Regions from separate parts of the Homo sapiens genome. Here regions 1, 2, 3, 4, 6 and 7 are each linked to region 5. Evidence: promoter capture Hi-C in 16 types of primary human blood cells and fetal thymus (Javierre and others, 2016). All regions are on one chromosome and are shown on one strand. Each heading gives the region's core, a stretch centred on a gene start or on the middle of the fragment in contact. The rest is flanking DNA. Distances are from core to core; before and after follow the strand shown. Region 1 overlaps JAK1 (Janus kinase 1). Region 2 overlaps ITGB3BP (integrin subunit beta 3 binding protein). Region 3 overlaps ATG4C (autophagy related 4C cysteine peptidase). Region 4 overlaps MSH4 (mutS homolog 4). Region 5 holds the start of SRSF11 (serine and arginine rich splicing factor 11). Region 6 overlaps ACADM (acyl-CoA dehydrogenase medium chain). Region 7 holds the start of PGM1 (phosphoglucomutase 1).

The links. Contacts are between HindIII fragments. The CHiCAGO score rates a contact against its expected background, and 5 or more counts as called.
Region 1: a contact is called between a fragment that was not itself captured here and the fragment with the promoter of SRSF11 in region 5, in 1 of 17 cell types (total CD4 T cells). The highest score is 5.1, in total CD4 T cells.
Region 2: a contact is called between a fragment that was not itself captured here and the fragment with the promoter of SRSF11 in region 5, in 1 of 17 cell types (naive B cells). The highest score is 5.3, in naive B cells.
Region 3: a fragment that was not itself captured here is called in contact with the fragment with the promoter of SRSF11 in region 5 in 2 of 17 cell types (total CD4 T cells and non-activated CD4 T cells); the score reaches 8.5 in total CD4 T cells.
Region 4: a contact is called between a fragment that was not itself captured here and the fragment with the promoter of SRSF11 in region 5, in 1 of 17 cell types (total CD4 T cells). The highest score is 5.3, in total CD4 T cells.
Region 6: a fragment that was not itself captured here is called in contact with the fragment with the promoter of SRSF11 in region 5 in 1 of 17 cell types (total CD8 T cells); the score reaches 5.1 in total CD8 T cells.
Region 7: a contact is called between the fragment with the promoter of PGM1 here and the fragment with the promoter of SRSF11 in region 5, in 2 of 17 cell types (total CD4 T cells and total CD8 T cells). The highest score is 7.5, in total CD4 T cells.

The regions. Positions count from the first base shown.
Region 1 is chr1:64,872,768-64,876,043 of GRCh38, forward strand. JAK1 (Janus kinase 1) reads right to left here. Exons shown (of 25, transcript NM_002227.4): 5 at 603-756. Among named protein-coding and RNA genes, the nearest start is that of JAK1, 92 kb to the right of the region's middle. The HindIII fragment of the contact is 4,131 bases long and covers 1-3,276 here.
Region 2 is chr1:63,515,427-63,518,717 of GRCh38, forward strand. All of the region lies in intron 1 of ITGB3BP (integrin subunit beta 3 binding protein), which reads right to left. It overlaps LOC102724319 (a long non-coding RNA gene), which reads left to right. Exons shown (of 3, transcript XR_426701.4): 3 at 2,330-2,368. Among named protein-coding and RNA genes, the nearest start is that of ITGB3BP, 6.2 kb to the right of the region's middle. The HindIII fragment of the contact is 5,782 bases long and covers 1-3,291 here.
Region 3 is chr1:62,784,377-62,787,412 of GRCh38, forward strand. The region is part of intron 1 of ATG4C (autophagy related 4C cysteine peptidase); the gene reads left to right. Among named protein-coding and RNA genes, the nearest start is that of ATG4C, 1.8 kb to the left of the region's middle. RefSeq lists a silencer at 1-236. The HindIII fragment of the contact is 826 bases long and covers 922-1,747 here.
Region 4 is chr1:75,799,515-75,802,827 of GRCh38, forward strand. The region is part of intron 1 of MSH4 (mutS homolog 4); the gene reads left to right. Among named protein-coding and RNA genes, the nearest start is that of MSH4, 4.3 kb to the left of the region's middle. The HindIII fragment of the contact is 1,671 bases long and covers 1,150-2,820 here.
Region 5 is chr1:70,220,027-70,223,307 of GRCh38, forward strand. It overlaps SRSF11 (serine and arginine rich splicing factor 11), which reads left to right and starts at 1,354. Exons shown (of 12, transcript NM_001350605.2): 1 at 1,354-1,813. The coding sequence starts at 1,611. RefSeq lists an enhancer at 1,248-1,793 and a silencer at 1,689-1,738. The HindIII fragment of the contact is 2,724 bases long and covers 400-3,123 here.
Region 6 is chr1:75,730,305-75,733,569 of GRCh38, forward strand. It overlaps ACADM (acyl-CoA dehydrogenase medium chain), which reads left to right. Exons shown (of 12, transcript NM_000016.6): 3 at 2,340-2,437; 4 at 2,549-2,618; 5 at 3,224-3,265. Among named protein-coding and RNA genes, the nearest start is that of ACADM, 7.2 kb to the left of the region's middle. The HindIII fragment of the contact is 1,211 bases long and covers 1,411-2,621 here.
Region 7 is chr1:63,591,285-63,594,660 of GRCh38, forward strand. It overlaps PGM1 (phosphoglucomutase 1), which reads left to right and starts at 2,127. Exons shown (of 11, transcript NM_002633.3): 1 at 2,127-2,450. The coding sequence starts at 2,205. RefSeq lists enhancers at 2,114-2,403, 3,104-3,163 and a silencer at 2,444-2,743. The HindIII fragment of the contact is 4,618 bases long and covers 1-3,376 here.

The DNA.
Region 1 (3,276 bases), core at 526-3,025, 5.3 Mb before region 5:
AAAAAAGCAGTTTACAAAACAAAATGAACCATAAAATATTTTCAAAATCTATACAGTATCTAAATTTGCATGTTAAAATCAGGAAGCATACTACTAAAAATCTTAGCAATCTCAGAGTAAATGTAATTTCAGGTGATTCTACCTTCTCTTTTGTTTTTTTTCTAGCGTCTAATCTTTCTATCCTACCACCAGTGACAGAGTGGCCATCTCCTTCCTCCCCAGACATTACTACGGCTGCTGAGAAGTGCCTTCTTCAGCCCTGTTGAATTACATCTTCTAACAAGCAGAGCTTCCCTCTGACCTCTGCACATAAGGCTATTAATACGGATGAAAAATAAAATGGTAGGAGGTGGGGAAAAGGAAAGGAATAGGAAAGAAAGGAAGCCCCAAAGCCCACAAGCTGGATAACCAGCCTCTTGGAAAGCTGAAATGCTGCCTTTTTTCTCCTCACTTGGGGCAAGTCCAGGTGTGGCAAGAACTTACCCAGAACAGGCCTTAAAGCACTCTAGCACCACCAAGTTCAGCTGCAGCAGGGGGTCTGAGCTCTACAATGCCTCTCCCATCCCACAAACTCCAGCTTCTCCTGGGCCCAAACTTCCTACCTGAGCAAACAGATACTCCAGTGAGCTGGCATCAAGGAGAGGGGTTGCATCTGGAATCTTTTTTTTCTCGTAGCCATTTTTCTGCTTCTTTGGAGAATGACGCCACACTGACTGCTCATTGTCGTTGGTTCCATGCCAATTGGTGAAATAGAACCTGGAAGGCAGGAAAATGAATGCCAATTGTGGCAAAGGGGACCCAGATGTGGGCAGGGCGTCCTGGCTCACCAACAGTGGTCAGTGCCGGAGGCTGAAGTGCCCTGAGAAGCAGGCAGACAACCCTGCCCCTTGTAGCCCCTCACCATCTCTTTCCTTCTTACTAGCGCTGCGTGAGAAGTGTCCCATCAGCACCTCCTCTATGACTCAGGGAGCTAAAGTGACTTCCCGAAGATCACAAAGACAGCTCCTCTGACTTCTCACTATGCTTCCAGAATAGGGAAACACCTGCTGACTGGAACTCCATGCTGACCACAGCTCCCTGCACGCTTACCATCAGCCACACTGCTAAGCCCATTCTACCTCGAATCCAAGACCAATTTGATTGACATTTTAACATTCCTGCAACTTAGTTTCATCACGCAATCAAGATATACAGCTTACGTGGCAGTGTTTCCTACTTCCCAGATTGCTGCTATTCAACTGATGGTGTATCTTACATGATGAATAGGATTTTAAAAGAGAGCTACCCAAACACCACTACAGGCATCATGAAACGAGTTAACAAGCACTTTATATATATTATGTTATTTAATCTTCACAGCAACTCTACAAGGAAGGTTTCATTCATTTTACAGATGAGGAAAACTGAGATTCCAAGAGGCTAGGTGACCTAAAACTACAAAAGCCTGTTCTCTTAACTACTACAGTTGACCCTTGAACAGCATGGGTTTGAACCACAGAAGTCCATTCATACACAGATTTTTTTTTCAATAAGTATATTGAAAATTTTTTTGGAGATTTGCAACAGTTTGAAAAAACTGACGAACTGTGTAGCACAGAAATTTTTTTTTTTTAATTTCAGAAAAAGGTACATCATGAATACATAAGATATATACAGGTTACTAGTCTGTTTATGTTATTGGTAAGGCTTCCAGTCAACAGTGGGCTATTATTATTAGCTATGTTTTGGAGGGTCAAAGTTATGCATGGATTGTCAATTGCACAGGGGGTTGGTGCCCCTAACCCTACCTTCCATATATAACTTCCTCTGTCACCTGTAAGAAAAACACAATTTCTGGAATGTGTGGAAGTGACTAAGGGAAGTGACTGAGCCAAGCCAGCCCAGGCCATCTGTAGGCTACAGACTCAGCTGCTACCTAGGTCTCTTTCCCTTGACTTGCCCATGAACTAATGAGAAAAGAACCATGTCATGGAGAAGCAATAAATACAACTCCCTCTTTCCCTGCAAAAAGCTGCTGCTACACTTCAACAACTGTCACTGTGCTATGTTTGCAGAGCCTAAGACAAGCCAGGCCCTGAGTTAGGGCCTGAGATGTGGAGGGCTCTCAGGCATGTTTCTCGTACTCTGTGAGTTCCTGTCTCTGGGAGCAACCGGTCAGGTCCAGCAGCAACTATCCAGCAACACACAATGGGGCACGTATCACAAGCAGGACTACACTGTGACTTCCATAGGCCCTAAACACTTTTCCCTTCCTCCATAAAAAATATTACAAGTTATATTTCTCAACTATGTTTTCTGATTTTAAGTGAAATTAGACATTTTATGGGCCCCTAACAAGTGTGTGCTCTAGGCACTGTGCTTAAAGGATAAGTTGTCCTTGGACATATGACAGTCTCTGGCGAGGTGCCGAGGAGACAGGTCGCCCTCCATTGCCAGGGGAGGTGGCAGGAGGGGAAAAAGCACCAAGGAAGGGAAGCTGGAACAGAATAATTAAATGCCAGGCTACAGAGCCTGGACCATGCAAAGCAGGCAGAGCAAAGAACGAAAGCCAGGCACATATGAGGCACGCTCTCCTGGGAGGGAAGCCCCATGGAAGATAGAAACGGAAGCGGCAGAGAGAAGCAGATGCCTGTGGCATCATTCGAGCAATGCCGTGAGCTGTGCACGGAAGCAAAGGCTGCAGCTGTCCTGCTCACCACTGAATCCCAGTGCCTGGTACCTAACAGCTACTGAACACATGCTTGATAGATAAACAAAAGATGAATAAACTCAGGGAGTAGCAATTAACATGGAAAGGATAAACAAAGAAGTTACTTTAAAGGTAAAAACCAACATTTTTATAATCTTCAATGATTCTATACAGCCCATCTTCCTTGTAATTTACGAAAGTGACTGAGAATTTGACTGTGGGCTTTGGTGTCTCTCTCACACACAGAAAGAATCACACATCTGCAGAGCCACGGGCAGCATGAGCCACGTCAGGCCTCTGAAGCTGCTGGACTGTTCCCTTACCCTCCGCTGGTGACAGTGGAAAGCTAGGGCTATCAGCTGGCAGGGAGGCTGCCACTCATGCTGTACCCAGGCCTGGCACTGCTCTTCAAGGGTAGAACAGAACACGTGCCCAGGAGAACTTAGCCACGATCCTCTCCCTGGGACAAGCAGGAAGGAAGGAGTGAACCAGCTACAGAGGTTCAAAGAGGGGTTCTGACAGAATGGCCAACAGGAGGGGTAAATGCTGTTTGATGGCGGAGGAAGGCAGTAATAAGAGAATGAGAA
Region 2 (3,291 bases), core at 519-3,018, 6.7 Mb before region 5:
TTTTTTCAAAATTGTTTTGGCTACTGCAAGTCACTTGCCTTTCCATACAAATTTTGAAATCAGTTTTCAATTTCTAAAAAACGTTTGCTTGAAGAACTAAAAATAGAACTACCATTCAACGCCAGGCACGATGGTTCACGCCTGTAATCCCAGGACTTTGGGAGGCTGAGGTGGGCAGATTACAAGGTCAGGAGTTCAAGACCAGCCTGATCAATATGGTGAAACCCCATCTCTACTAAAAATACAAAAATTAGCCAGGCATGGTGGTGCATGCTTGTAGTCCCAGCTACTCAGGAGGCTGAGACAGGAGAATCACTTGAACTCGGGAGGCGGAGGTTGCAGTGAGCCAAGATTGCACCACTGCACTCCAGTCTGGACAACAGAGCAAGACTCCAACTTAAAAAAAAAAAAAAAAAAAAAAAAAAAAGAACTACCCAGCAACCACCACACTACTGGGTATCTATCAAAGGAAAATAAATCATTATATCAAAAAGACAAATGTACTTGTACATTTATTGTAGCACTATTCACAACAGCAAAGTCATGGAATCATCTTGTGTCCATCAATGGATGACTGGATAAAGAAATGTGGTATATATACACCATGGAACACTATGCAGCCATAAAAAAGAATGATACCGTGTTGTTCTGCAACAACATGAATAGAGCTGGAAATCATTATCTTAACTGGAATAACTCAGAAGCAGAAAATTAGGCCAGGCATGGTGGCTCACATCTGTAATCCCAACACTTTGGGAGGCTGAGCTGAGCAGATTGCTTGAGTCCAGAGTGAGCCTGGGAGGCAGAGGTTGTGGTGAGCAAACTGCACCACTGCACTCTAGCCTGGGTGACAGAGCAAGACCATGTCTCAAAAAAAAAAAAAAAAAAAAAGAGGAGAGGGGAGGGGAAGGGAAGCGGAGCGGGGGAAGGTGGGGGAGAAGGGGGGGGGAAGGGAAAAGGAAAGAAAAGAAAGAAAACAAGAGAAAAAAGAGGAAAGGAAAGCAAAGAAAATCAACTGGGTGTGGCAGTGCTCACACCTGTGATCTCAGCATTTTAGGAGGCTAAGGCATGAGGATTGTTTGAGATCAACATGGGCAACACAATGAGACTCTGTCTTTACAAAAAAATTAAAAATTAGGCCAGTGTGGTGGTGTACACCTGTAGTCCCAGCTACTTGGAAGGCTGAGGCAGGAGGATCACTTGAGCCCAGGAGGTGAAGGTTGCAGTGAGCCATGTTCATGCCACTGCAGTCCAGCCTGGGTGACAGAGTAAGACCTTGTTTCATGAAAAAAAAAAAAAAAGAAAAAAGAAAAAAAAAGAAAAGCAAATACCACATGTTCTCATCTATTAGTGGGAGCTAAACAATGGGTACATATGAACATACAGAGGGAAATAATAGACACTGAGACTTCAAAAGGAGGAAGTATGGGAGGAAGGTGAGGGTTGAAAAATTATCTTTCGGGTACAATGTTCACTATTTGTGTGATGGGCACCTACGAGCTCAAACCTCACCATTATGCAATATATCCTTGTAACAAATCTGCACATATACACCCTGAGTCTATAAAAAATAAAAACAAATAAGTTAGGTATAAATGATCATACTCAAAAAAAGAAAGTACAAAGAAGGAAAATTAGATTACATGAAAAATGAAATATAAAACAGAAAAGATAAAGATAATACCAAATACTATTATACAAGTTTTCATCCACTTAACTTTTTTTAAAAAAGATCCATTTTAAACAGTAGAAATAAAAAAAGAGCAAAACTTAAAAAGAAATGTTTGTTAGGATTATGACAGGGATTGCATTAAATCTAAACATTGGTGAGAACTAACATTTTAATAATACCACATTTATCACTTAAAAATACTCTCACCAGCATGGCACATGTATATATATGTAACTAACCTGCACATTGTGCACATGTACCCTAAAACTTAAAGTATAATAATAAAAAAATAAAAATAAATAAAAATAAATAAAAAATAAATAAAAATACTCTCATTTATCTTCATCTTTAATTTCTCTAAGGAACATTTTGTAATTTTCACTGTAGAGGTCTTGCATGTCTTATGCTAAATTATTATATGTTTTTATGTAATTATAAATGAAAAATCTTAAACTTCAATTTCCAGGTGTTTATTCCTGAAATATAGAAATATATTGATCTTTGTACACTGATTTTGCATCCTACATCCTTGCTAAATTGTTCTGAAAATTGTTTTATAGATTTTTTAGGATTTTCTTCATACATGATGTCATTGTTGAATCATTAATTTTACTTTTTCCTTTTTTGTTGTTGTTGTTTTTGTTTGTCTTGAGACAGGGTCATCCAGGCTGGAATGCAAGTGACACAATCACAGCTCACTGCAGCCTTGACTTCCTCGGCTCAAGTGATCCTCCTGCCTCAGCCTCCCAAGTAGCTGGGACTACAGGCACGTAACGTCACACCTTGTTAATTTTCATATTTTTTCGTAGAGACAGCGTTTTGCCATATTGCCCAGGCTAATCTTGAACTACTGGGCTCAAGCAATCTGCCTGTCTCAGCCTCCCAAAGTGATGGGATTACCGGCATGAGCCACTGGGCCTGGCCCCACTTTTTCCTTTTTAACACTATGGGTGTTTTTCTGTGTGTGCTTTTTTGAATAGAAGTGGTGAGAGGGCACGTTCTTGCCTTTTTCCTAATCTTAAAAAAGTTTTCGATACTAAATATATTATCTATAGGTTTTTCAAAGAAATGAGAAGTTGCCTCCTATTCCTAGTTTGCTGAGGGTTTTATTTTCTCACGAATGGGTATGTTCTCTGTACAATTAACCAATGAAATCGTCTGGGTCTTTGTGGGAAGATTCTTAGTAACAAATTCTATTTCCTTAATTATGCAGATTTTCTGTATCATCTTATGCCATCATGCTAAGTTGTATTTTTCAAGGAATTTGTCAATTTTGTATAAGTTGTCAAGTTTACTGGAATAAAGGCTTTAATGATATTACCTCTTTCAATATCTATAGCATCTTTAGTGGTATTCTGCTCTTTCATTTTGGATATTGATAGTTTATGTTCTCTTTCATCTAAGTACAATTTACCCTTTCATTCTGGATATTGATCATTTGGTTTCTCTCCTGTTAGACTGTTATATCTACCTTTCCCTTTCTTTTCTTTCTTTTTTTTTTTTAACTTTCAACTTTGTTGCTTATAGACAGTAAAGAGTTAGGACTTGCTTTAAAAAAAAATCTAGCCTTATAATATTCTCTACCTTTTTCACTGATGTCTTTACTGCACTTAAACTTG
Region 3 (3,036 bases), core at 85-2,584, 7.4 Mb before region 5:
CCCTGTGGCCAACCATCTGGGTTCTCTGAGGGTTTTGGCGCCTTCCTTGTCTCTCCTTTCTAGTGTCATTTGTCTTCTAACTCTTCCTCGCTTTGTCCTGGGTTGCAGAGATAAACCGTAAGCCTAACTGTGGGCAGCTGTTCCTCCTTTCCTTGTGGTTTTCTTAGATGTTGCAGGCAAGACTCTTTCCCCTGATCTATCGCATCCATTTGACCCCTCCTCATGCCAGTGCTCTGTCGGCCCTGTTTTTCCTCGTTTAAAAAATAAAAAAAGGGAAATAATAATAATAACTGGATCCCCACTGTCTCTCTGTTCTCATTCCTAGCCTCTTTCTCCCTTTTTGGTGTTTGTTACTGCTTCAAGCCATAACACACTGCCTTGCATATATTAATGCCTTTCCATCTAAATATTAACGTTCATTCACTTCATTTGGTTCCCGCTCACCGTGAACTCTCCCAACCCTACCCACATCTAAGGGCTTTTGAGGTTGGAGGTGTAGAATAAATTCTTACATATGATGACTATATTCATATATGAGAACCTTCAGCGGTCAACTCAGCATCACTGCTTATTGAGTTTATATTTCTTGTGATTTCTTTGGCTTACCTTTTCGTTTTGTATTGGTTATTTACCCACATGGGGCTCACTGCTACCCTATAGTTACAGAAGAATACCTCGTCTTACATCTTTTTATATCCGAATTACTTAGGAGTTTTCTTATGTTTTCCTGCTCGGACCATATGTCCCCGGTGGGTTTTTGGCAATGATTTTGTGTCAGTTGATGGCAGAAAGAGACAAGGGAATGATCTTCTTGCTTGCTTGTGACTTGTAATTAGATTATGAGCCATTGAGAATACCCAGAGGGAGTGGAAAGGCTTTGAAAGGTAAAGTCTATGTATTTTCTGAGTTTCAAATTGATAAAGCTTCTTCTTTGAACAGGAAGAGTTTCTATTTAGTCCAATAATCTGAGGCTATATTGAATTACCAGTTCATTCGCTATAAAATTTTTAGAACCACATGTCAAAAAGTGGCCCATCTAAAGAATTGTATAATTTAGCAAAAAGTCATTAAAAGCCATTTAATTAATGCTCTTTTTCTTTAAAATAGGATTCAAGTATTTGGAAAAATGTATTTATGGTGATTGGTTATGAAGTATTTCTAGATGTTTTGATGGTTCTGGTGAACAGCATCGTATTCTGTTCACTAATGTTTTATAAAAAGGCAGAAATTTTCTGGCTTTCTGGGGAACCACGTAACTCAAATGAGTTTGCAGCTCGTTTTCTATTCCAATTATTGCACTAAAGAGGTTCTTATACTAAGATTATCATTCTTTTTTAAGCTATCAAGTATGATCTATACATGTCAGTAAAATATAAATATTAATACTGGTACAATGTTAAATTGGGATTATTCCTAATTAATGCACAAAATGCTGAAATGGTTTCAGCCATGCTTAAGATTTGGGGCGAAATATATTTCAGAATAAATTTACTCATATAATTTTTTATTGAAAAAAATGATACGGTAGCCATTACTCAATCTTTTAATATTTTTCCTGAGATTTTATTCATTTAGTAGGAATTTAGTGACTACTTACTATTTAACTATTGTCACAAAATCACCAAAACATTTGTTTGTAAGAGTATCCTCTTGTCCTCAGCTCTGCATAGATACTTTTAAAGCATTAGCGCAGTTATTCCAACTAAGCTATTGAGTATTATTTACATTTAACAGATGAAAAAACTGAAGCTTGAAGAATTTAAGGAAATTAATTCAGTTCTTTTCGACTCTTCCCACTGTACAACAGCTGCAAGGATCTGTGCTCTATCCTGAAATATATAAAGAGCGTTAAATCAACATATGCTTACTGAGCAGCTATTCATACCAGACACTCTTCAAGGTGCTGGGGATATAGAGTGAACAAGAAAAGTCCCTGCTCTTAGGGAGCTTATACTCTAGCAGAATGTATGAGATGTAAACTTTCCCTTCAAGAAGCAGAAAATATAGTCAATATGTATTAGATTTTACGGGAGTGTTTTAGAATGTTAAAGGTGAGAAGAGAGATAACTAGGGAATGTTTCATGAAGATGAGATCTAATGTGGAATTTAAATAGTGGTTAGGGATTGGTAGGTAGAAATTAGGACCCTGTCTCAAAAAAAAAAAAAACAAGTGAAAATCTGTGATATAGAATAATTGGTGAGCCTTATAAAGCACTTTATTTTTATTTTTTGGACTATATATAAGTAAAATTGTAATATTTGACATGCATTCAATCATTTAGCATTTATTTATTAACTAGACACTCTTCTAGGCCACAGTGGTATAGTAGTGAGTAAATACGGTGTTTACCCTCATAGAATTTACTAACAGAGGAGGCAGACATAAATCAAATAGTCAAAGAAATTTAAAGTTACAACTGTGGTAAATGCTATTAAAAAAGGACTTGATGTTACACAGAGGAAGAACTGATTACAGAGGGGATAAGAGTGGGGATGGGGAGAGGCCAGTTAGAAGATTGTTGGAGTGGCCCAATTGAGAGATGGTATTTTGGACAAGGTGGTGGTGGTAAGATGGATTCCAGAGGTGTTCAGGAGGTGGAACTAGGCGATGGATTAGATATGGAAGGTGAGGGAGAGGAAGATATCATGGGCTAATCTTAGGTTTTTGGCTTATATAACTGGAAGGATTGTTGCACCCTTCACCGAGGTAGAGAACATCGAAAGAGGACCAGGTTTGGGAAACATGCTTTGTTTATTAGTATTTTTTGTTGTGGTAGCAGTGTTTAAGGTTAATTTCTTAGTTATTTTTACCCTTTTGTGTCATTGTTGTAGTTTTGTATATTTGAGTAATACTATGCCTAAAATAGGTTTTTTTGGTATCATTTTTTCTTGATTGAGCAGGGGTGGGGTTCTACATGAAAGCATCTGGAAATATGTTGGTCTCTGTTTTGAATCTATCTGTAATATATTAAACCATGTATATGAATAGGTAACTGAATAATGCAGTTACATGCCATCTTTATTTTCACTTGAGAT
Region 4 (3,313 bases), core at 735-3,234, 5.6 Mb after region 5:
TTCACAGAGTAAGTGCACCTTGAACTGGTCTTCAAGAATAAGTAGGAAGAAGAATGCCAGCCAAAGGGAAACAGCTGGAGCGCATTCTTGAGAAAAACACGTGCAAAGGCACAGAAGAATCATGTAAAACTGCTAATAATTTTGCTTGGCTAGAGCAGGAGAGTGATCTAGGTAGATAAACTTGAATGTAGATATAGTTGTGAGAATTAGATCTGGGAGACAAATTTAACCCAGAGACCCCCCATATTCAACACCAGGTCTCTGGTTTTGGTGACTGGATAGATGGTAGTAGTATTTTCTGATTCTGGGAATTTTGTAGGCAAAGCAAATTTTAGAGGGAAGATGATGAGCTCTGTTATGGACATGCTGAGTGTGAAAAGCCTGTGGGATATCCATATATTTATATTAAGATAATTGAATATAGGAAACTAGAGCTAAGAAGAGAGAAACTTGAGGGAAATATGGATTTGAAAGTTACCAGTATGTTGGGACCACAGCAGAGAATATGAAGACTATATAGCAAAATAGAGGTCAAGGAAGTAGGAGGAGAATTAAGACAAGTGAATGAGTTTCAAGAAAGGGTATATAGTCTAAAAGTAGTCTGAGAACAAGAAACAGCCCTCTCCATCTCCAGTTTCCGCATCTCCAGTTTCTGGCAACCACTCTCTTCCTTAGCTCCCTAAAGCCTAGAAATGCTAATGGAGCACATTTTATGCTGGTTCTACACACGTCTTTATGATAGCACCCCTACACCCTGTCCACACCTTTGTAAATATTCTCTTTATCAAATTATCCCAGTTTGAGTATATCATTGATTCCTGCTGGAACCCATATAATGAAGTTATATTTTACCCTATGGTGAGTATGGGGAGACACATAGGAATTGTAAGAAAGAGAGATACTGATCAGATTTGCTTTTCAGAAAGATTATTGGTGATGATTCGAAGAATAGATTAGAGAGGTGTAATACTGGAAGCAAGGAGAAGAAGAAGTAGGAAACTTGCACAAGGACCAAAGAAGATACAGGCTTAAAATGGGCTGGGAGGAGTAGAGAGGGATTTAAATTTTAGTGATGTTAAAAAAAAAGAATTCTAGCACTCAGTCACTGAGTGTTAGGGTTGATGAAGGAAGAATTGAGAATGTCTCCTAAGCTTATGACTTGAGTGACAAGGGACAAGCTGGTACAATTAACCATACTGGTAATAAAGAATTAATTTTGAGGGAAAGATAGAGTTCACTTTTGGACATTTAGAATGCTGGGAAGATACCTAAAGGTTTATGCCCAAGAGATAGATATAGTGACCTGGAGCTACATTGTCTGATAGAATATTCTGTGATAATAGAAACGTTTCATACTTATGCTGTCCGATGTGGTAACTAGTAGCCGTATGTGGCTTTTGAGCATTTGAAAATGTTGCTAGTGTGACTGAGGAACAGAATTTAAATTGTATTTAATTTTGATTTAGTTAAATACTCACATATGCTGCTTTATTGAACAATGCAGGTATAGAGCTGAGAACGGTTTTTGCACTTTTGAAGGATTAAAGAATCAAGAATATTTTGTGATATTAAAATTATATGAAATTTAGAATTCAATATGTAGAAATAAAGCCATTTTTAATTGAAACATAGCCATTCTCATTTATTTATGTATTATCTATGACTGCTTTTCTATGATAGTGTCAGAGCTGAGTAATTGTGACAGTGATTATATGGCCCACAAAAGCCTAAAATATTTGCCATCTGGTCCTTTATTTAAAAGTTTATGGGCTGGGCATGATGGCTCATGCCTATAATCCCAGCACTTTGGGAGGCTGAGGTGGGCAGATCACCTGAGGCCAGGAGTTCATGACCAGTCTGGCCAACATGACAAAACCCTGTCTCTATTAAAAATACAAAAAAAAAATAGCCAGGTGTGGTGGGCATGCCTATAATGCCAGCTGCTTGGGAGGCTGAGGCAGGAGGATTGCTTGAACCTGGGAGGCAGAGGCTGCAGTGAGCTGAGATTGCGCCATTGCACTCTAGCCTGGGCAACAAGAGTGAAACTCCATCTCAAAAAAAAAAAAAAAAAGTTTATGCTGAGGCATGGTGGCTTATGCTTGTAATCTCAGTGCTTTGGGAGGCTGAAGTGGGAGGATTGCTTGAGGCCAGGTGTTTGAGATCAGCCTGGGCAATGTAGCAAGACCCTGTCTCTATAAAAAAAAAATTAGCTGTGTGTGGTGAGGTGCACCTATAGTCCATAGTTACTCAAGAGGCTGAAGCAGGAGGTTACTTGAGCCCATGAGCTTGAGGCTGCAGTGAGCTGTGATCACACTACTGCACTCCAGTCTGGGCGACAAAGAGAGACCTTGTCTTTATAAGACAGTAAAATAGACTGGGCATGGTGGCTCCCGATTATAATCCCAGCATTTTGGGAGGCTGAGATGGGAAGATCACTTGAGCCCAGGAGTTTGAGACCAGCCTGGGCAACATGGCAAAACCCCATCTCTACAAAAATACAAAAAATTAGCCTGGCATGGTGGCATGAGCCTATAGTCCCAGCTACTCGGGAGGGTGAGGTAGGAGGATTGCTTGAGCCCAGGAGTTCAAGGCTGCATTTAGCCAAGATCACACCACTGAATTCCAGCCTAAGCTACAGAACGAGAGTCTCACATACAGACAAAAAGGAAAAATTAAAAGTTTAGCAACCCCTGGTTTACAGTTTAAGGAGTCGTTACAGCTATATACGAAGGCTTGAGAGTTGTCAGAAAATAGATGTTAATAGAAACAAAGAGGAGAGATGAGATGCCTGGAGATGCATAATGTTGATTTGTGAGGGAAAGCTTAAAAGTATGAAGCCCTGGAGGCCAACAGTTAAGAAGCAGAGGAAAAAGGAGATGGCAAAGGAAACTAAAAGTGGTTTAAAGAGAATTCAAGATAGAGAGTTGTGGAAATCAAAGAGAATAGGTGAACAGAGCCCAAACATTTTAAAATTTTTTTAGAACTTCTATGTGCCAAGAGGCTATGCTAGGTTGTTTATGTACATTATTTAAAAATTTTATGACAATCCTGTAAAATAGGTAATAGCTTACATCAGTAGATAAGTACCTAAATAAGGAACTGAAGCCAATTGAGTCTAAAATGCCATTTGCATAGGGGAGAGAAATTCAATGAAGAAATTAACAGAAGAAGGTTAAAAGAGGTCTAATAATTATTATACAAATGAAACATATGTCTTAGTCTGTATTCTGTTGCTTTTAAAAGAATACTTGAAACTGGGTGATTATCAAGAAAGAAAACATATTTCTTGGAAGTCTGGAGGCTGGGAAGTCCA
Region 5 (3,281 bases), core at 104-2,603:
TAAATGCCATTGTCATTAAGGTATATTTGTGCGTGTGTCCAGCACATTCATTGGGACTGACTGTGTGACAGACATTGTGCCAGGTTCTGGACTGACCCAGGAAGCTCACAACTTTGAGTGATACATGTCAATAATAAATACATGTATCTTCTGTTACTTAGCAGAAAAGAGGAAGCCCTAACAGCTTGCAGAAGTCATAGCAGTGAGGGAAGGAATGCTCTACAGAAGATGACAGATAAGATGAGTGATGTTATTAATAACTTGTGTATCGGCACAGAGACATTATGGTTTTTGTCATGTTTGGGGCACTACAAGTCACTGGACTACACACTGGATGCAGTTGAGAGAATAGTTCAGATGAGGTTGAAAACAAAAGCAAGGATTTTTTTAATAGTCAAAAGCTTCAAAATTATTTTAAGCAAGAATATGTATGTGAAACAAGTTTTTCTTGAGAAATTGCAGTATTTTCTTTAGAAATATATACTTGAATATATTTAAGTACTATAAACTGTGTTTCCAAAGTCAGCTATTGTGGAATTGGCTGGGTGCAGTGGCTCACGCGCCTGTAATCCCAGAACTTTGGGAGGCCAAGGCGGGTGGATCACCAGAGGTCAGGAGTTGGAGACCAGCCTGGCCAACATGGTGAAACCCCATGTCTACTAAAAATACAAAACTTAGCCTGGCGTCGTGGCAGGCGCCTGTAATCCCAGCTACTCCCGAGGCCTAGGTAGGAGAATGGCTTGAACAGGGGAAGTGGAGGTTGCAGCGAGCCAAGATGGTGCCACTGCACTCCAGCCTGGGCGACAGGGCGACTCTGTCTCAAAAAAAAAAGTCATCCATTGTGAATGAATGTACAAAACGCTTATTAATAAGTGTAATATTAAAATATATCTTTTCTGAAAGTTTTAGTGACAAAACAAATTAGTTACAGATTTAATGTTACCAAAATTCATGTACATTGAAAATTTCGGGACATTTTATACTGGTGGTGGTGGGGTGGCATCTTAGCTTGGGTTTAAATATCATTAGTAATCGGATAGCTCTGTAGATGATTATCAGTATATAAAGACATCGTGAGCAGTATTTAATAAGAAGAGTTGCTGAAGTGACTTTTGCAGGAGGATGAATGCTTTTTTTAAAAAAAAAGTTTATACGTGCCTCTTCGCTCTTCCAAAAAAAAAAGAGAGAAGAAAAAGAAGAATAAAACGAGAGACGAAGGTGGATAACACCTTTCTCTAGACCCCGGTGCCTCTCATTTCTCGGGCTGCAGGCGACGGCTGCTGGGCCTGCGCGGGGTGGAGCCGACGCTGACGCGCCCTGCGCCGCAAAGCATTGTGGGAGCTCGGGCCCGCTAGTGTCGTGGTTGGAGGCGAGGTGGGGCGGCCGTTTGTTTTCTCGTGGTCTCGAGCTCGCGCGCTCTCATCCCCTCCCCCGCGGCGTGCGGCGGGGCGGAGAAACGGCGGCGGCGGCGGCGGCATCGGCAGCAGTAGCAGAGGCTGTAGCATCGGACACCCTCCTCTCTCCCGCAATCCGGTTCCTCTTCCCCCTCCTTCTCACTGTTTGTTGTGTGTTTGATGTGTTAAAGCAGGAGCGAGAACCCGAGCAGCGCCATGAGCAACACTACCGTCGTCCCCAGCACTGCAGGTCCGGGCCCCAGCGGCGGGCCCGGTGGCGGAGGTGGTGGTGGCGGCGGAGGCGGCGGCACCGAGGTAATCCAGGTGACTAATGTCTCCCCGAGCGCTAGCTCTGAGCAGATGCGGACTCTCTTCGGTTTCCTAGGCAAGATCGACGAACTGCGCCTCTTCCCGCCGGAGTGAGTATCGTCCACCATCACTGTTCCTGCTAACGCCGCCTCAGCCTGGGCCTAACACACACAATTTCCTTAGGCCCCTGTCGCTGCTTCCCCGGGCCAGGCTGCTTGAGTGGCTGGTGGCTGGTGGATTTACTTAAGACGGTTGTGTTCCAGGCCTACAAAAAAATGCAGAGAGGCAGGGCCAGGGCTTTTTGGAATTAGGAAACACTGGCTGTTATTCTCGGGAAATTTTTTTTTTCCGCCTTAAATTGTGCCAACGTGGTCGTTTGGCTTTGGGGACTTAACGCAAGACTAACCGCAGTCTGTACGTCGTATATAGGTTAAATCCCTTTTTTAAAAAACTGAGTATTTGTTCTTTGCGTTCTTGGAAGAAAGGTAACAAAATTATTCATGCCTGTGTTAATTTGGTGTTAAACTTTGTAGGTTGTTCACTTATTGTTATTGCTGTTATGTGGTTCTGGCCCAGCAATATAATTCAAAGATCATATTCTTTTTGACAGACGCTTAGTTTAGTGTGAGCCTGATTACTTAATTTGTATAATGTCAAAAAACGGGTTATAAACCAGAGATTTTCCTTTGTTTGAATAATATACAGATTTGTGATATTTCACAGTTGTTCTTGAGAAGGATTTTTATAAATGTTGAAATTTGAATTAGAGTGTATGACTTTTTATCCTTTTTGTCTCACTTTTATTTTGAAAATTATTTCTATCGCAAGAATATTAAGTGGATGAATTGTAAAGAAAAAATAGTTCAAAGAAGCTAAGAAGTAAGATAAAGTGTACTACTAAAACAGACAATTGGAATAATAATAATAGTCTTGTGCTTTTTGGAAGACTTATTGGTGGAGAAGTGACAATTCAAATGTCATTATCAGTAAATATCATATATTGAGAATTTTATGATGTCACTTAAATACTAAACAGGAAATTGGAATCCTCTAAGAATCTACTGTTATGGTACGTGTAACCATTAACTTTCTGCTCAATAAAATAATTGACAAAAGTTTATCATAATGAGATATTTGTTAAGTATTAGCATATTTCATCACTTTCCACTTAAAATACTTTCACAAGATTATTGGTGTTTTCAAATTGGTATGTTTCTAATTTTTAGGGAAATGTACATGTGGAGAGAGGATTTACTTAGTTTGCATGACGTGGAGTTCTGGGAACAAACACGTAAATCTTTATTCCTGTTATTTTGACAGATACTTGATTTGGTAATGAAAGACAAATAGCTTTCATAACATGAACATACAAAAATAGATGCTTTGCTGTTGTTCAGTTTTCTCAAGACTTACTGTTTTAAGCTTGTAAAATTAATGAACAGTAAAATAGCAGAAAATAGTGATACATTGGATGATTTTAATAGTTTTATTAGTGAGATATTTGAGGTATTCGAATTACTACAATTCTTTCCAATCCTACAAGTTAAAAATTTTGTTATGGTTGCTGACTTTTAAATG
Region 6 (3,265 bases), core at 766-3,265, 5.5 Mb after region 5:
GAGTGACAGAGGATGAGTTAGATATAATTGTTTGGGAGGGAGATTGTGAAGTTCAATACGGGTCTATTCCTTGAACCAGTTGCATCTGGTTCTTTATCTGTAAAGTGGAAATAATATCTATAACACAGAATTTCTATGAAGATTAAATTATATGCTGTATTTAAAGCCCCTAGCACTTAGTGACTGGATCAAAGTAGTTTCTCAATAAATAATACATAATACATACTTGTCATTTTTCCTTTTTTTTTTTTTTAAGAGACAGGGTTTCACTCTGTCACCCAAGCTGGATGCAACCTTGACCTCTGGGGCTCCATGGATTCTCTCGCCTCAGCTTCCTGAGCAGTTAGGACAATAGGTCCATGTCAACCACACCTAGCTGATTTTTTAAATTTTTAAATGTTTTGTTGAGACAGGATCTTGCTATATTGCTCAGGCTGGCCCCAAACTCCTGGCCTCAAATGGTTCACCTGCCTCAGCCTCCCAAAATTCTAGAATTATAGGCATGAGCTACCGTGCCCAGACTTTCTCTACCCTCTATCTACCTGCAAGATTGCTATCAACTGGCACCAATCTTAGAAGTAAAGCTGTGATAGAGAGAACACTGGACTGAAATTCTTAAGTATACTTCTGCTAATTCATTGTGAGACTGATACTAGAATTTCCTTACTCTGCATTAGTTTATCAATAAAAAGAGAGATTTGGCTGGGCGCAGTGGCTCGGGCCTGTAATCCCAGCACTTTGGGAGGCCGAGGTGGGCGGATCACGAGGTCAGAAGATCGAGATCCTGGTGAAACCCCGTCTCTACTAAAAATACAAAAAAAAAAATTAGCCGGGCGCGGTGGCAGGCACCTGTAGTCCCAGCTGCTCAGGAGGCTGAGACAGGAGAATGGCGTGAACCCGGGAGGCGGAGCTTGCAGTGAGCCTAGATTGCGCCACTGCACTCCAGTCTGGGCGACAGAGCGAGACTCCGTCTCAAAAAAAAAAAAAAAAAAAAAAAAAAAGAGATTTGATCTTATGCTCTTCAATTCAGCACCAGAATTCAGCTTTTATGTATTGTTTCTCACATCCCCATACAAATGATTACTGTAGTCTTAAACATTCCTCTGTGCATTTGCTCTCATTTTTCTTGCTTGAAATACCCTATTATCTCTTAAATTTTACCTAATCTTTGACGTTAGATGCAACCACATTAAAACACAAGGATACCATGGATTTGAAAAGATGCAGTTAGCAATTGACTCCTCTCCTCAATCAAGCCACCATACTAATTTCATTAATTTTAAAACAATCCCTTATTTTATGTAAACAAATTGTTGGACACCATTTATTAGCATTGCAGCAGGATTTTATGTTATTATCTTTTGAAAAACCTTTCTACCACTTTTACCAGTTGCTTTGTGCTAATTTATAAGCTTGTCTGAGTTTAAAGGAGCTGTAAGCCTAGGCATGGTGTCTCATGCTTGTAATCCCAGCACTTTAGGAGACCACGGCAGGAGGATTGCTTGAGGCCACGAGTTCAAGACCAGCCTGGCATCATAGTGAGACCCTGTCTCTGTGAAAACAAAAAAAATGAAATAGATAGGGTGAGGTGGCTCCCAGCACTTTGGGAGGCCAAGATGGGAGAATCATTTGAGCCCAGGAGTTCTAGACCCATTTGGGCAACATGGCAAAACCCTGTATCTACAAAAATTACAAAAATTAGCCAGATATGGTGGCATGTGCCTGTGATCCCAGCTAGTTGAGAAGCTGTGGTGGGAAGATCATTTAAGGCCAGGAGGTCGAGGCTACAGTGAGTCGTAATTGCACCACTGCACTCCAGCCTGAGTGACAAAATGAGACTGTCTCAAAAAAAAAAAGCAAAATTATGATATTGATATTCTTATATGACACTTTGAAATAAGTTTTATTGCTTTATGTCACTGAGTGTGTTTCATCTATTTCGTTAGATTGATTCTTGTCGTCAGGGAGATGTCTTGTATATTAGTTTCACTTCAGTGTTAGCAAACATTTGATAAATTGGCTTAGGAACTAATAATAAGTTAAACGTTTTTTATATCACCAATTGGAAAAGAAAAACTCACTTGAGCTCTACAGGTTAATATCTATTACTCATTTGTAAAAGTTAAAAATCTTACCTATTTCCTTTAGCATTTGTATTGACATAGGTTTATTTATATTGTGTAGTGAACTCTTGATTAGTCAAAAAATGCACTGTAGTCTGAGTTTCTGATAATCAAGGATTTAAGTCCCCACAATAAATACACATTTCTACATACTGACTTCATAGGACATTTTTCCTTGTTATCCAGTTTTAACTTTTCTAAATAATTTTCCCTTAGAGTTCACCGAACAGCAGAAAGAATTTCAAGCTACTGCTCGTAAATTTGCCAGAGAGGAAATCATCCCAGTGGCTGCAGAATATGATAAAACTGGTGAAGTAGGTATATACATTTTAAAGAGGGAAAAATCTTTTACATTTTTTACAAGATTATGTAATCAAACTATCTGGATTTCAAAATATATTTTAACTCAGTTCTTTTTCTTCTAGTATCCAGTCCCCCTAATTAGAAGAGCCTGGGAACTTGGTTTAATGAACACACACATTCCAGAGAACTGTGGTAAGCTTTCTTTATATTTTTAATACTGGAATGCATATGAGTAAGAAAAATTGTGGAACTCTACTCAGTCATTTTTTTCAAATATTTCTTGCCATTAAATGACTTTCTACCTTTGTCTTCCTGCTCAGACTACAGTGTTTGCCCACTTTTGGAAGCTTGCACTCTATACCTAGATGCGTTTTTCCTTCTTCTAACTGGTTCCAACCTTAACTTGCACCTAAACCTTGGTAACTTCCGTTTCTAGAGTTGGTCAATTTGTTGTGTTTTATTCCTATCTTCTATATTACATTTTATTGAGTCTTTTTTGTGAACCATGATTCTTTTCCTCAGACCCAGTTTTAGAGTTGAATTGAGTTTTAACAAAATCAAGTTAGAACAGGAATACAGGTTCAAATTACAAATAGTAAAATAATTTTTTGAAAATTTTAGAGCTTTAAGAAAGTATAATTTCTTATTGTGCCAGCCAGAACACATGTAGATATTATATTGCAAATTTCCTTTTAAAACAAATTTTGGTCATATTGAAAGCAATTAAAATAGTTTACCTTTATTTCTATTGTGATGTACTACATATTACAATGTGTTGAAACATTTTGATACTGTAGGAGGTCTTGGACTTGGAACTTTTGATGCTTGTTTAATTAGTG
Region 7 (3,376 bases), core at 877-3,376, 6.6 Mb before region 5:
AGGGGCCACAGTAACCCTGTCCAGAACAGCAGAACTGCCAGTTAACTCATAGAATCATGAACTATAATCATGAATGGGGGTTGTCTTAAGCCACTCAGATTTAGACTGGTGTGTTATGCAGTTAAAGCTAATTGTTACAACTTCTGGGGTGAGAGAAGTATAGATCAATTCCTCTTAAATGAAAAGCTCCATCATATTTCCAAAGATACTGAAGAATATAGAAAGGGCATGAGATCTGAATTTGGGCCCGTGACTTTACAAGTTATCATTTATTGATGACTTACTTATTAGCACTGTGGTAGGAGCTGTATATTCTCTATCTAAACCATACAACTCTAAGGTAGGTATTTTGAAGGCTCAGTGAATCTATGCTATATTTTCATTTTGTGGAGTTAGATAACCTTGATTACATTCACCATCCAATCCTCAATTCTCTCGTCTATAAAATGGGCTTGATTATATTATTTAATTCACAAGATTACACTGCTCTGTAAACTCCTGTGCAAATATTAGAACTCATTACTAGCAGTCCAGGGTTCCGTTTTCACATAATATTTGCCACCGAAACTCATCTATAGTGACTACATCAACACACTGTATCTACATAGCATGTACTATATGAGCATGTATATCAACACTTGGTTTGTGAGAGTCTGCACTCTTATGGGTCTGTTCGCCTCCCTGCTTGATCAAGACATACCAATTAACTACCAAAAGAATATAATTCACAGGTGAATGATATGCTCTGGTTTTGGAATTGGGGAAGGGGAGCTAATATTTTTGAAGGCCTCTATGTTTCAGGCACCAGGCTAGATGATTTACTTCTAACAGCTGATTATGATTGAATTTGTTTGGACTGGGTCATTTAGAAACCACCTCAAGTAATTCTACTGTGAGCATGGGTCACAGTAGGATTCTACTGTGTATCCATGACTGAGAATTTCTGACATACAAAACCCCATTAAATCTTGCAAAAATATTCCAAAGTAGGTGATATGTTTATTTTACAGTAAGGAAATTGATGCCCACGGACATTAACTAACTTTCCCAAGAGCACACACCTTGTAAAGCCAAGTTTTTTGCCACTTTACCAAAATGACAGGTTTCTTGAACAGAGGAGACAATCACTCTCATCAAATTAAGGGAGATACTAAACCGAAAAGCAAGAAAGACTGAAGATTCCTACTTAATAATCAAATCCCCTTGGTTGACCTTGCTATCCCCCGTGAAACTTTTCCAGCCATGTCAGTCCTTGTTTGTTGATCTCCTCACTTTATTTCTATTACATGAGTAACTGGCTAATTTTGATGGTGTTCATACTTATCCTTACCATATATTTGCTCCTACATTTGTCAAGTCCTGCTTGTACATTTCCTAGTTGCCAACCTGGTGTCACAGCGGGCAAATCATGGGAAGAGCCCTGGTTTTGGAGCCAGACCACCTGAATTGGCCTCCCGCATGGACTTAGCTGTGTGGCAATGAGACAAGGCATTTTATTCTTTGAATTTCAGTTTTGTAAGCATAAAAAGGGGAAAAATAAAACCCAGAGTTTAGTAAGGTTTAGAAACGCTACACTCAGCAAGTCATAGCTAAGTCACCGTCACCAATGGTAGTCAAGTGTGTGGTGCAGCAGGAAACATTTGGAGTCGACTCCTTTACGGAACTCAAATGCCCTCACATTTAGGGAGAAATAGAAAGAATTACGACTCATGAAATCGAGCTGGGGCTGGCACTTCTGACCCTCCCAACAGGTTTCCAGAAAGCTATTTACACACGATGCATTCGCCAAACCACTGGAAATCATTCTACCCTGTACTTTTTTCCACCCTGCCTCACGTCCTTGCCCTATGACCGGGTTCCTACCCCAACCTCTGCCCCAACACTTAGAGGAGGAGTTGCGGGCCTCTTTTTACAGTGGATAGGATTCCGAAGGGGAGAGTAAATCAGTAAGGCTCCACCCATTTCACAGGAGGCCTAGAGACCGGCGCTCCCCTTTCCCCTCCCGCCGGACCTGCCAGGAGGTGGGCTGGCGCGGAGGGAGGGCCCTGTCCCCTGTCCCTTTAAGGAGGAGGGCCAAACGCCGGCCTAGAGTGCGGCGTAGCCCCCACCCGCCGTGCCCTCACCCCAGAGCAGCTGCAGCCTCAGCCGGCCGCCCCTCCGCCAGCCAAGTCCGCCGCTCTGACCCCCGGCAGCAAGTCGCCACCATGGTGAAGATCGTGACAGTTAAGACCCAGGCGTACCAGGACCAGAAGCCGGGCACGAGCGGGCTGCGGAAGCGGGTGAAGGTGTTCCAGAGCAGCGCCAACTACGCGGAGAACTTCATCCAGAGTATCATCTCCACCGTGGAGCCGGCGCAGCGGCAGGAGGCCACGCTGGTGGTGGGCGGGGACGGCCGGTTCTACATGAAGGAGGCCATCCAGCTCATCGCTCGCATCGCTGCCGCCAACGGGGTAAGGGATGCGCGGCCCCGCGCCGCTGTGCACCCTGGCGCGTGTGCGACGTGCGGCCCGCGGCGCCCTCCCTCGCTCGGGGCCGGCCGCTTCCGCGCGCTGCCGCCTCGGTTTCCACCTCCCGCTCCTCCCTCTCCTTCGCGCTCGCTCTTCTGGCCTGGAGGCCCGACGGAGGTCGCCGGGCTGGGGAAAGTGGCCACGGGACCCGGCAGACCTGCTCGCCTGACTCCCGGGGCGCCGGGAGGTGCGGGCGCGGAGCCTCCCAAGGTCACGCCCGACTCTCCGTCTCTAGCCGCTGCCTTCCCTCTCCCCGTCCCCCGCCCCTCCCGAGGCGTCTGACATTTGCCCTAACCTTGCAGCCTTGGAAGATACGATTACGGCGCAGAGTGCTGTCGCCTTAAGCAGGAAAGGTTAGACTGCCGCCGCCTCGCCCAGAGCCCCCTCGCATCCCGCCCGCTCCTCTGCTATTCTCGGCTAGGACTGGCGCTTCCCGCTGGCTCGGAGCCCGACACTGTGGGGCAAGGGTGGCGAGAGCACCCATCCCCCTGGGGCGTCAGGTTGGCAGATCTCAGCAGGCGGGTGCCAATCTTTTCTCCCCGCCCCCTAGTTTGCCTTGGTTCCGAACTCCTGCCCTTTGCGCGGCCTGCTTGCTGGGGGGCAGGCGTTTGAAACATCTAGTCTCTGCCCAGTGGTGCCCGGGATCTGTTCCACCGACGGGGCTGGAGCTGAATTTTCATTAGAATGGCAACATACCCAAAGACGCCCTTACGCAAGCAAGCAGTCGTGGCAGGCCAGGAAATTACCGCAACACCTTGGTTCCGCCCCCGGCCAAGGAAAGTTAACTGACTTGATTGGGCGGGTCCACTCGGATAGGGGAAATTAAAAAAAAAAAGTTTTTCAGTAAATCTGATATATGGAAATGTGGG